3 separate regions of the Homo sapiens genome follow, and all the other regions are linked to region 3. Evidence: promoter capture Hi-C in human tissues and cell types (Jung and others, 2019). All regions are on one chromosome and are shown on one strand. The core of a region is centred on a gene start or on the middle of the fragment in contact, and the rest is flanking DNA. Distances in the headings are between cores, read along the strand shown. Region 1 has its middle 8.0 kb from the start of LINC02014. Region 2 has its middle 25 kb from the start of RPN1. Region 3 holds the start of EFCAB12 (EF-hand calcium binding domain 12).

The links. The method cuts DNA at HindIII sites, captures the fragments that hold promoters and counts their contacts. A contact is called where the count stands out against the background at its distance.
Region 1: a fragment that was not itself captured here is called in contact with the fragment with the promoter of EFCAB12 in region 3 in 2 of the 25 tissues and cell types used here (H1 embryonic stem cells and spleen).
Region 2: a fragment that was not itself captured here is called in contact with the fragment with the promoter of EFCAB12 in region 3 in 1 of the 25 tissues and cell types used here (spleen).

Annotation. Positions count from the first base shown.
Region 1 is chr3:130,100,059-130,104,480 of GRCh38, reverse strand. It overlaps the pseudogene FAM86HP. Among named protein-coding and RNA genes, the nearest start is that of LINC02014, 8.0 kb to the right of the region's middle. RefSeq lists an enhancer at 4,386-4,422. The HindIII fragment of the contact is 7,534 bases long and covers 1-4,422 here.
Region 2 is chr3:128,674,161-128,678,169 of GRCh38, reverse strand. It overlaps the pseudogene POU5F1P6. Among named protein-coding and RNA genes, the nearest start is that of RPN1, 25 kb to the right of the region's middle. RefSeq lists an enhancer at 2,765-2,834. The HindIII fragment of the contact is 6,212 bases long and covers 1-4,009 here.
Region 3 is chr3:129,426,690-129,431,147 of GRCh38, reverse strand. It overlaps EFCAB12 (EF-hand calcium binding domain 12), which reads left to right and starts at 2,512. Exons shown (of 9, transcript NM_207307.3): 1 at 2,512-2,708. The coding sequence starts at 2,660. MBD4 (methyl-CpG binding domain 4, DNA glycosylase) reads left to right here. Exons shown (of 8, transcript NM_001276270.2): 8 at 1-201. RefSeq lists a silencer at 2,326-2,375. The HindIII fragment of the contact is 10,320 bases long and covers 1-4,458 here.

The DNA.
Region 1 (4,422 bases), core at 716-3,215, 670 kb before region 3:
TGCCGCGTGACACCCTTGAGGCCCGTGCAAGCTGTTGGTATGTCAACAGTTAGCTGCTTCTCATTGCTGAGTGGCGATTGGTCCTGTCATGGTTTATTCAGCCATGTGGCGGATGGCTACTTGTCTTCTAAGCCACTTGTTTTCTGATTGCTGGACTTACTGTCTCACCCTCTCTTGGTACAGCCCTCGGAAGGCTCGGTCACACTCTCCGAGCACAGCCATCATCTCCCACGGTACCACAGGCCTGGTCACATGGGACGCTGCCCGCTACCTTGCAGAATGGGCCATCAAGAACCTGGCAGCCTTCACTAACAGGTGACCTCGGGGCACAGGGCAGCCGCCATCTACCTTGCAGAATGGGTCATTGAGAACCTGGCAGCCTTCACTAACAGGTGACCTCGGGGCACAGGGCAGGGCACCGAGGCAGGCTTACCCTGGTGCAGTCGAAGACACGGTCCCCTTTCCTCCCGCCAGGACTGTCCTAGAGCTTGGCAGTGGCGCCGGCCTTACAGGCCTGTCCATCTGCAAGATGTGCCACCCCCGGACATACATCTTCAGCGACTGTCACAGCCGGGTCCTCGAGCAGCTCCGAGGGAATGTCCTTCTCAATGGCCTCTCATTAGAGGCAGACATCACTGCCAACTTAGATAGCCCCAGGGTGACAGTGGCCCAGCTGGACTGGGATGTAGCGACGGTCCATCAGCTCTCTGCCTTCCAGCCAGATGTTGTCATTACAGCAGGTAATGCCCAGCCCCGGGCATCCTGTGCAGGCGGTGTCCTTGCAGCTCTACCCAGCTCTTGGCTCTGGGAAAAGGGAACAGTGGATGCTGTCGGGCATGGACATGATGGGGCTTCCAGAAGAGTTACTCCGGGCCTCCAGGGGGACATCAAAGGACAGGGGTGCCTCTTAAGGTGACCTTCAAGCCACAGCCCTCTTGTTGGAGACAGGCATACTCCCGTTACAGTCGTCACCACACGGCTCTGTTCCAGAGCCATGCCCTGTGTCCTTCAGAGACCACAGGAGGAAAACAACCACTTCTGGGATGAGGACAGGGCCCTTGGGAGAAGGTGGTGTTTGGCTGGGCCACCAAAAACCCCTCACCCCTGCCAGCACACTCAGTCCCCTCTCTGGTGGAACAGAGCTCTGCCTGTGGTCCTGGGTCCCAGCCCTGAAACCCACAGGTCCAGCGGTGGCCAGGGACAGAGGCCCACCCCTGCAAGCCAGCAGACCAATCGGCAGACACCTGAAACACGAAGTTCACGGTAGGGTCAGGCTTTCTGCCATTCAAAGCCCTCTAGATAGGCCCAGAACCAGAGCTGGTTTTTTAAGGAACACCAGTGAGTCTGGAGATTTTTTTCTTTTGCTTCGGTCTTTTGCAGCTTTCTCTACTAAGGGTTCTCCTTTTTCACCCAAGTAATTGCCCTTCCATCTAATGGCCCAAATGGTCAAATGGCATCTAATAGTCTCATATGAACGCTGCCTCTCTGGCCTCACCCTGCTGCTGAGGTCAGCATGAACTGGAACTTTCCACTTGTCCCTTTCAGTAACCTGAAGCTTTCACCGTAGACGTGCTGTATTGCCCAGAAGCCATCGTGTCCCTGGTCGGGGTCCTGCGGAGGCTGGCTGCCTGCTGGGAGCACCAGCGGGCTCCTGAGGTCTACATGGCCTTTACCGTCCGCAACCCAGAGACGTGCCAGGTGTTCACCACCGAGCTAGGTGAGCCCCCACGCCCACCCGGGCCTGCATGGTCCCCGAGCTGTCCCTGCAGGACTCCAGTGGAAGTGAAAGAACTGGGTGCCAGCAAAAAGCTAGGATGCCCCACACTCCCACACCATGCGGGGAACTCGGGCAGAGGCCGGTGAGCAGGGTGGGCTTGGGGCGTGGGGGGCTTGCGGCAGGAGGAGGGCAGCTCAGCACAGGGCGGGAGGGTCTGAGCCCAGCAGCCCTACTATGTGCCTCAGAGCAGGTTTCCCTAAGCCCTTGGGCCTCGGTTTCCTCATCTATAAAATGGAGGTGGTGGGAGGGGCAGTCGGGGTCAGGGCTGGACACAGCTGTGGCCTGCAGGATGCTGGAGCACAGGCTGTACAGGCGGATCCACCACGCCACTGTCCTGAGCACCCAGTTGATGGAAGACGAGCAGGGTGACTATAGAGAAGGGCAACTGGCCCCGTAGTGGGCCAGCCACTGTCCTGAGACCTGACATTGGTCAGCCCCCAGCACCTGTGAGGGTGTTCTGTCATTGTCCCATCTCACCGACAAAAACACTAGGACACACAGAGGCCAAGAGACCCCCGAGCTCCCGCAGACTGCAGCCCGGCCACCTGGCTCTAGTGCCTCCACACTACACCCAAGCCCCCCATTGCCACCAGACTCTGCCCCAGCTCCCCCTGAGCACAGCCCCTCCTGGCAGCCATGTGCAAAGATGCACCCGCAGCAGCCTCTGCCTGCACACAGAGACATGGACGACCCAGTGCCTGTCCACGTGGGGCAGCCCGTTAACTACAGAGCCAACAAACAAGCCAGCACGCGAAGACATACTGGGTTCCATGACAGAGTCCCGCACAACCTCGCACAGGAGGCTGGCCAGGCGTGGGGCTCAGGCCTGTCATCTCAGCACTTTAGGAGGCTAAGGCAGGAGGACTACTTGACCCCAGGTGTTCAAGACCAACCTGGGCCACATAGTGGGACCCCATCTTCACAAAACATACAGAAACTAGCCAGATGTGGTTGGACATGCCTGTAGTCCCAGCTACTCGGGAAGCTGAGGTGGGAGGATGGCTTGAGCCCACGAGGTGGAGGCTGCAGTGAGCCCTGATCTCACCACTGCACTCCAGCGTGGGCAACAAAGCAAGACCCTGTCTCAAAAAAGCAAAAAAGCAAAAAAAAAAAAAAAAAAGGAAGTCTTTCTTCAGATACTTACGTGAAAAAAAACCTGCAATATCTTTTAAGTGAAAAAAAAACAGTGCCAAGCAGTACATATAGTATAAGCCCCCACCAACCTTTTTTTTTTTTTTTTTTTTTTTTTTTGAGACAGAGTCTGGCTTTGTATTGCCCAGGCTGGAGTGCAGTGGTGCCATCTCGGCCCACTGCATCCTCCCACCTCCCAGGTTCAAGCTATCCTCCCATCTCAGCCTCCTGAGTAGCTGGGACTACAGGTGCGTGCTACCACGCCTGGCTAATTTTTGTATTTTTTGTAGATTCGAGGTTTCTCCATGTTGGCCAGGCTGATCTTGAACTCCTGACCTCAAGTGATCTGCTGCCTCAGCCTCCCAAAGTGTTAGGAATACGGGCGTGAGCTACTGCGCCCAGCCCCATTTTTGTTTAAAAACTAATAATAATCACCCACACGTGGTTATGAGTACCTATATTCCAACTACTCAGGAGGCTGAGGCGGGAGGATGGCTTAAGCCCAGGACTTTGTGGCCACCTTGAGCAACATAGCAAGACTTCATCTCAAAAAAAAATGTATCAAAATAATCATTTTCACATAGGTATACCTATAGGGGAAAACCTAGAACATGTATATAGCAGGTTTGTCCAACCTGTGGCCCAACACAAATCTGTAAACTTTCTTAAAACAATATGAGGTTTTTTTGTGATTTTTTTTTCTTTTAGCTCATCAGCTATTGCTAGCTTTAGTGTATTTTATGTGTGGCCCAAGGCGATTCTTCTTCTTCCAATGTAGCGCAGGTAGGCCAAAAGATTGGACATCCCTGATATGCACGTTAACAGGTGCCATCCTTGGATGGCAGGATTATAGAGATTGCTACACGTTCATGTCTGTACTACTTCATTTTTATAAATATGCATTTTCCACTCGTAACAAAAAACCGTGATTGAAAATCATCCCGGGTCACAGTGTCTCATGCCTGTAATCCCAACACTGTAAGAGGCTGAGGCTTTGGGAGGCTGAGGTGAGCAGATCACCTGAGGTCAAAAGTTCAAGACCAGCCTGGCCAACACGGTGAAACCCCATCTCTACTGAAAACACAAAAATTAGCCAGGCGTGGTGGTGCACGCCTATAATCCCAGCTACTCGGGAGGCTGAGGTAGGAGAATCACTTGAATCTGGGAGACATTGCAGTGAACTGAGATGGCGCCACTGCACTCCAGCCTGGGGAACAGAGTAAAACTCCATCTAAAAAATAATAATAAAAGAGGCTGAGGCAGGAGCATCACTTAAGGCCATGCGTTCAGGACCCCATCTCTACAAAATAAAAAAAATACTGGCATGGTGGCATGCACCTGTCATCCCAGCTACTCAGGAAGTCGGAGGATTGCTAGAGCCCAGGAGTCGAGGCTGTGGTGAGCAATGACTGTGCCACTGCACTCCAGCCTGGGTGACAGAACAAGATCGTATCTCAAAAAAAAAAAAAAAAAAAAGAATCATTCTGGCTAATGGCTCTTCAGACATCTGTGCT
Region 2 (4,009 bases), core at 326-2,825, 750 kb after region 3:
ATAGGAATCCCTGTCCTGGCTGCCTAGCCAGGTTGTTAGGAGGAAAGAGAGATTTGGTGTCCTATACTAGCATTCAGAATGACTTGTGATGGGACACTGTTTGCAAGGCTGGGGAAAGCAGGCTGTGATACCTACAAGTGGGAGTGTACATTTTTACAACTCCATGAGGAGGCAAGCTGGCATATCTGTTAATGTAACATTAATCCTTTGTACCAATCCTTTGATTAAGCACTTCAGGGCCAAGGAAACTATCTTACATATGTATTCCCCCATGTGCACAGACAAACGTAGAAAGAGGTACAGTTGAGGGCTGTTTGAATGGCAAAAGCATGGAAGCAAACTAATTGTTCATAAATAGGGGACTGGCTTGATTTTTGAAAAATGACACATCAAGCCTGAGCAACATGGTGAAACGCTGTCTCTACAAAAAATACAAAAATGAGCTGGGCGTGGTGGCAGGCACCTGTAGTCCCAGCTACTCAGGAGGCTGAGGCAGGAGGATCACTTGAGCTGCAGAGGCAGAGGTTGCAGTGAGTGGAGATCGCACTACTGCACTCCAACCTGGGTGACAGAGTGACACCACATCTCAAAAAAAAAAAAAAGACACATTTGTTTAACAGGAATTCTATGCAGCCCCTCCTACAAAATAAAGTAGTACTGTTGTAGAATAAGCTCCAAGATTTATCACATATAATTATAATTATGACTGTGGCTGCAAATAACAATGTAGCCTTCTATAGTGCAAATAACAATGCAAATTACATTGCAAATAACAATGTAGCCTTCTATAGTGGCTTAAACAGACAAGGGTTAATCTGTCTCAAGCAATAAGTAGCAATAAGGGCAGGCACATCTGAGTCTTGTATGGGGCATTGGTGTGTTGTCAGGAATGCAGACTCTTTTTCTTTTTAAAATTTCAAAAGCCTTAAGAAGGTCACAGTGGCACATGCCTGTAGTCCCAGCTACTCAGAAGGCTGAGGCAGGAGGATCGCTTGAGCCCAGGAGTTCCAGGCTGTAATGAGCCATGATCATGCCTGTGAATAGCCACTGCACTCCAGCCTGGGCAACATAGCAAGACCTCATTTCTAAAACAACTTTTTTTAAAATTTAAAAACTTTTTGCCTCATTTCACCAGATCCCTGGCTTGGGGAGCCTTCCTTCCCCATGGTGGGACACCTGGCTTTGGATTTCACCTTCTTGCCCCTTCCAGGTGGTGGAGGTAATGGGTCAGCGGGGCGGGAGCTGGACTTGGCTAAGCTTCCAAGGCAGGAATTGGGCCGGGTGTTGGGCCAGGCTCTGAGATGTGGGGGTTTCTCCCGTGCCCCCCACTGCATGAGTTCCGTGGGCAGATGGTATACTCTGGGTCTCCGGTTGCAGTGGGGCTAGTGCCCCAAGGTGGCTTGAAGACCTCTCAGCCTGAGGGCGAGGCAGGAGCCTGGGTGGAGAGCAACTGTGAGGGGCCTCCCTGGAGCCTTGCACTGCCCCAGCTGGTGCCATGAAGCTAGAGAAGGAGAAGCTGGAGCAAAACCTCAACGAGTCCCAGGACATCAAAGCTCTGTAATTTGCCAAGCTCCTGAAGCAGAAGAGGATCACCCTGGGATATATCCAGGCCCGTGTGGGGCTCACCCTGGGGGCTCTTTTTTTAAATGTTTATTTATTTGTTTATTTATTTTTGAGACAGGGTCTCACTCTGTTGCCCAGGCTGGAGTGCAGTGGCGTGACCTTCGCTCACCACAACCTCTTGTTGTGCCCAGGGGTGTTAGAGAGAACGCCACACTTTGAGACGATTTAAGAGTCCTTTATTAAGCCGGCGGCCAAAGAGACGGCTAACGCTCAAAATTCTCTTGGCCCCGAGGAAGGGGGTTGATTAACTTTTATACCTAGGTTTAGGAAGGGGAGGGGAACTCAAATGCAATAATTCTACAGAAGTAAAAACATGCAAGAATAAAAAAAAAATGGTTACAAAGAGATAAACAATTTAAAAGACAAATGGTTACAAGAAGAGCAACGGTACCAGGTGCAAGGCTTTAAACCTTTATTATAATTAGATATAGGGGGTATGCCGGACAGGAACTCAAGGCTTTATGTTGTTATCTCTTTGAGAAAAATCCTGGGAACTTCATACATTGTTGGTGCTAGTACCTTATCAGTTAATTGGGCTACTTTGAAATGCTGAGGATCTGCTTACACAGGTTAACTCCTTGCGGAAGGGGGTTGGGTAAGGAGCCCTTAGTATCTTGTAAATTAAGGGGTCAATTGGAGTTTGTCTGGCTTTCCCAGCTAGAGAGAGTCTTATTTACATGAGAAGCAAGGCTAGGTGATTAAAGAGACAAGCAGGATAAAATTCAAAGTAACGAGTTAGAGTAAAAACAAGGTTAGGCGTTTCACTCTGCCTCCTGGGTTCAAGCGATTCTCGTGCCTCAGCCTCCCAAGTAGCTGGGATTACATGCATGTGCCACTATGCCCAGCTAATTTTTGTATTTTTAGTAGAGACGGGGTTTCTCCATGTTACAGGCCAGGCTGGTCTTGAACTTCTGACTTCCCACCTTGGCCTCCCAAAGTGCTAGGATTACAGAAGTGAGTCACCATGCCCAGCCTCTGGGGGGTTCTATTTGGGAAGGTGTTCAGCCAAATGACCATCAGCTGCTTTGAGGCTCTGCAGCTCAGTTTCAAGAACATGTGTAAGCTGCCTCCCTTGCTGCAGAAGTGGGTGGAGGAAGCAGCCAACAATGAAGAGCTTCAGGAGATATGCAAAGCAGAGACCCTCAGGCAGGCCGAAAGAACAAGAACCCGGGCCAGTCGCGGTGGCTCACACCTGTAATCCCAGCACTTTGGGAGGCCGAGGCGGGAGGATCACGAAGTCAGGAGATCGAGACCATCCTGGCTGACAAAGTGAAACCCTGTCTCTACTAAAAATACAAAAAAAAATTAGCCGGGTGTGGTCACGGGCACCTGTAGTCCCAGCTACTCAGGAGGCTGAGGCGGGAGAATTGCCTGAACCCGGAAGGCGGAGCTTGCAGTGAGCAGAGATCGCGCCACTGCACTCCAGCCTGGGCGACAGAGCGAGACTCCATCTCAAAAAAAAAAAAAAAAAAAAAAAGAAGAAGAACCGAGTGAGAGGCAAGCTGGAGAACTTGTTCCTGCAGTGCCTGAAACCCACACTACAGCAGATTAGCCACATTGCCCAGCAGATCAGCCACATCAGCCAGTGCGCCCACAAACCCACACTGCAGCAGATCTCCAGGTTGGGCTGGAGAGGATGTGGCCCCAGTGTGGTTCTGTAACTGGCGCCAGAAGGGTAAGTGATGAAGCAATGACTATGCACTACGAGAGGATTTTCAGGCTGCTGGGTCTCCCTTATCAGGGGGCCAGTGTTCTTTCCTCCGGCCCCAGGGCCCCATTTTGATACCCCAGGCTATGGGAGCCCCCACTTCACTATGCTGCGAGGGGAAGCCTTTACCCCGTCTCTGTTGCCACTTGGCCCTGCCATGAATTGAAACTGAGGTGCCTGCCCTTCTAGGAATGGGGGACAGAGGAAGGGAAGAAGCTAGGGGAGGAGAACCTGGAGTTTGTGCCAGGGCTTTTGGGCTTAAGTTCCTCATTCACTAAGGAAGGAATTGGGCACACAAAGGGTGGGGGCAGGGGATTTTGGGACAACTGGTTGGAGGGAAGGTGAAGTTCAATGATGCTTTTGCTTTTAATCCCTACATCATGTATCACTTTGTTCTTAAAGAAACCTGGGACACAGTAAAAAATAAATAAAATAAGGCCGGGCGTGGTGGCTCACGCCTGTAATCCCAGCACTGTGGGAGGCCGAAATGGGCAGATCACGAGGTCAAAAGATTGAGATCATTCTGGCCAATATGGTGAAATCCCATCTCTACTAAAAATACAAAAATTAGCTGGGCGTGGTGCCACGTGCCTGTAGTCCCAGCTACTCAGGAGGCTGCGACAGGAGAATCACTTGAACCCAGGAAGCAGAGGTTGAGTGAGCCAAGATTGTGCCACT
Region 3 (4,458 bases), core at 1,263-3,762:
TCGGCTAGGCGTGGTGGTGCATGCCTGTAATCTCGGAAGGCTGAGGCAGGAGGATCATTTGAGCTCATGAGGGCCCAGGAGGTCAAGGCTTCAGTGAGCCATGATCATGCCACTGCACTCCAGTCTGGATGACAGAGAGAGACCCTGTCTCAAAAAATATATATTTAAAAAATAAAAATAAAAGCTGACCCCAAAGACAAATAAGATTCCTCTGGCATTGTGTATTGTTGACAGCTCCACACTAGCTCTTAGGAATTGTAGATTCCACCCCAGTATCCATTTGATAACCTAATGTGAATATGGGCCTGCTGCTCCATTTCAGCTCACTCACTCTTTTACCTTGGTCCCTTTGTGAAAACTCATTTCTCATCTTCCATTTGGAGTTTATACCATTTGGCCAGGCACAGTGGCTTACACCTGTAATCCTAGCACTTTGGGAGGCTGAGGCAGGAGGATTGCTTGAGCCCAGGAGTTCAAAACCAGACTGGGCAACATAATGAGACCCCGTCTCTACAAAAAATTTTAAAAATTAATTGGGCATGGTGACATACACTTGTGGTCCCAGCTACTCAGAAGGCTGAGGTGGGAGAATCCCTTGAGCCCAGGAGATTGAGGCTGCAGTGAGCTATGATCACACCACTGCACTTCAGCCTGGATGACACAGCAAGACCCTGTCTTAAAAAAAATAAGTCTTAATGCCATTTTTATTACAAGTATTGTTACAGTTCAAATACCAAAGCATTTACTATTAGAAAGAAACCAAGGGAAAAAACTAGTTACTATGTCTTAATTACCAACTACCATTTTAAGGTATAATTTGAAAATTAAATTGATTGAATAAATGAAAAATAAATCAGTTGTTCAGGAAACTGCCTTTGTTGTAGGGCAGTGTGAACCGAATCAGGCTGCAGTGTGATGCAGAGGTAGTTGGTTGTTTCCACTTTAGTGAGTGTCAGTTTTTAGAAGGATAGATTTTGACCAGAGAACAGGAAAACTGGCCACACCTCCCTCTCCCCAAGGCAAACCCACTTTATAGTTTACCATCACATTTTCATTTAACAAACATCCAAGTAGCATTCACAAAGTGTAAAGCCCTGTGGTGGGGAGGGGCACAAAGATAAACAAGTTCTGTACAGACCCTCACAGAGAGAAAGAAGGGCACCTAATAATGGAAGGGAACAAAAGCGGTAAGGAGTAGGGACAAGACACCCAAAGAGGGTGGAGAGGGGCCTCTGAAACCTTGGGCCCAGCTGGGCCTGGAGGGTGGGGCGAGCTCACCAAGCTCAGGGCATCAGGTGTGGCTTTGTGGTAGGGCTGGTGGTCACATACCTTCCCCCAGCATCTCCATGGGGAGTGTGGGCCCGTGTGAATGCAGGAGGCGAGCTCTGCACCAGGGGAGCTCAGGACACAGCCAGGTTGCTCAGGCTCTAGGCCTGGCTTTTCCTGTTTCTTGCAGGTGAGGTTGCCTGACCTCTGTACCTGTTAACTTGTCTTTTAAAAATGGGATAGTGGTGTCTACCTCACACAATGATGGTAATTATGAAGTTCAGACATGTAGTGCTAAAATGGTACCTGGCTTGCAAGAGTGCTGTGTGAATGTGGCCCATGGCAACAATCTGTTTGCAAGCGTCACAAAGATAGCTTGTCTCAGCAAAGGAATAAGGGCTTAGGTGTTTCTCTTTAACTTTTTAAAAATTGAGCTAAAAGCCACCATTTAACCATTTTAAAGTGTACAGTTCAGTGGTTTAGTACATTTACAGTGTGCAGCCATCATCACTAATTCCAGAAGTTTCCATTTCTTTTTTCCACTCCAAAAAGAATCTCTCCACCTGTTAGCAGTCACTTCAATTACTCACCCCATCCCCTAGCAACCATTCATCTACTTTCCGTGTCTGTGGGTTCGTCTATGCTGAACATTTCACATAAATGGAATCATACAGCACGTGGCCTTTTGTGTCTAGCTTCTTGCTTAGCATACTGTTTTGAAGGTTTATCCATATTGTAGCATGTACTTCATTCCTTCTTATGGCCATCCTATGGATATACCTCATTTTGCTTATCAGTTGATGCACATTTCAAGGGTTTATTATTATTCTCTGGTCCTCAGGTTCTGTAACTCCAAACCATGGCACCCTGCCATAAGCGGGGCAGAACATACCCAACACCTCTATCTGGCCACAGCTCACTTTGGTTCTTCCTAACCCTCTGGAGGAGGCAGGGCCTATTTTTCCTATGAGAAAACTGAGGCCTAGAGATATGGAGACCTGCGGAAGATCCCACATTTCACGGGAAAACCGGAGACTTTCTACACTGGATTCAGGGACTACTGGGCCGAACAAAGAAATCCCGCCTTTCACCAAGCCCAGAACTGGGCGGGGCGTGGATTTGCTCGCTGCCCCTCCCAGAATTGGACGAAAACGAGGTGGGGCCAGCAGGCGCTCGGCAGGGCGGGCTCGCTCTTAACACGTGACAGCGCTCAGCCAATTGGCGCGGGGCGTCCGTAGCCACGGCAACAGGTTGCTTCTGCAGTCTGAGCTGAGCGCCTTTCGCACGACTTGGAGTTACGGTTTATCTGATACCCCGGTACCCCTACGCAAGCAAGCCCACATCGACACACATTCACACACGCCCTTCAGCACCCCCTCCCAGCACCACGACCATGGACGACGACTATGAAGCGTACCACAGTCTGTTCTTGTCGCTGCTCGGTAAGCCCCGGGAAGAAGCGTCTGCAGGGAGCGCTCAGCGCCCTAAGGACGCGTGAAAGTGGGGTGAGGGCAAAAACTCAGCCACAGATATTGTGCCGACCCCCTCTGGGTGAAGGGTTGCCATGGAGTCGGGGGCAGGTCATGTACATTTCTGAGATTTCTATCTGAGCCTAGTTGGAGGAACCAGAGGCCCGACCCATGTGACGGGAGCCCTCCAGCTCGCCCTGTTTCTCTGCAGGACATTAATGTATTCAGTACTGGAGGAGAGGCATGGAGAAGACGTCAGTCTTCAAGGTTTTGGCAGTAATGTGCTGGGGACCAAGTTCTTGGCAAAGCAATGCAGCTTCACGGGTAAAGGACAGAGATAAATGGATAATTACAGAATAAGAAGGGGTAAATGCCGGGCCCAGGGATGACACCCAGGAGTAAAAGGTGTGCTGAGGGTATGGGATGGGGAGGAACAGTTCCAAGCTTTTGGAAAAGATCTTTACACTGGAGCTTAAAGGATAAAAAGGAGTTCTCCAAGCCAAAAGGGGAAGGAAAAGCATTTCGGGCAAGGAAACAGCATGACCCAAGAGGTCTGGTGTCTCTGGAAATGAGGTGAGAGAGGTCAGAAGGGACAAGATCATAAAAGATACTGCAAGCCAGGAGATGGAGAGGCCACTGGGAGTGGCAGGACTGGATTGGGAGCAGTCAGAAAAGACCTGAGACTGAGTTGGCAGACTCAGAATGTTGGTGTGGGGAGATGAGAGCTGGGGGCTATAAAGCTTGAAGACTGAAGGTCTTCTCCATGCCGCTTCTCCAGCACTGAACACATTAATGCCCAGTGGAGAAACAGGGAGAGCTGGAGAGGCTGGCCACCTTTCCCAGGCACACAGGTCAGGGCTCTGGTCAAATGCCCAAGCTAAAGATGCTGGGAGGTGAGGGAGAAGGCCCAGGCTAGAGGGAACTACGGGACTTGGGGGCTGGTTGGTCAGGAAACACAGAAGAGGCAAATAAAGATGGTTCTCAAGTTGGCAGCTGGGGGACCTGGTAGATGGAGATGTCTTCCACAGAGATAAGAGAACGTACTCAGAGGACCCAGTTAGTGGGGGAAGGGGCACAAAGACAAATCCAGTCTTGGTTGGTTGAGTTTAAGATCCTTGTCAGTAGCTGGGCACAGTATCTCACGCCTGTAATCCCAGCACTATGGGAAGCTGAGGCAGGAGGATTGCTTGAGCCCAGGAGTTTGAGAATAGCCTGGGCAACATAGTGAGATCCCATCTCTACAAAATTGTTTTTTAAAGTTAGCCAGGCCTGGTGGGGTGGCTCACGCCTGTAATCCCAGCACTTTAGGAGGCTGAGGTGGGTGGATCACGAGGTCAGGAGATCAAGACCATCCTGGCTAACACAATGAAACCCCGTCTCTACTAAAAATACAAAAAATTAGCCGGGCATGGTGGCAGGCGCCTGTAGTCACAGCTACTCAGGAGGCTGAGGCAGGAGAATGGCATGAACCAGGGAGGTGGAGCTTGCAGTGAGCCAAGATCATGCCATTGCACTCCAGCCTGGGTGACAGAGCAAGACACCATCTCAAAAAAAAAAAAAAAAAAAAGGTTAGCTAGGCTTAATGGCATGCACCTGTAGTCCCAGCTACTCAGGAGGCTGAGCTGGGAGGATCATTTGAGCCCAGGAGTTCAAGGCTGCAGTGAGCTATGATTGAGCCACTGTACTCCAGCTTGGGGAACAGAGCAAGACCCTGTCTCAATTA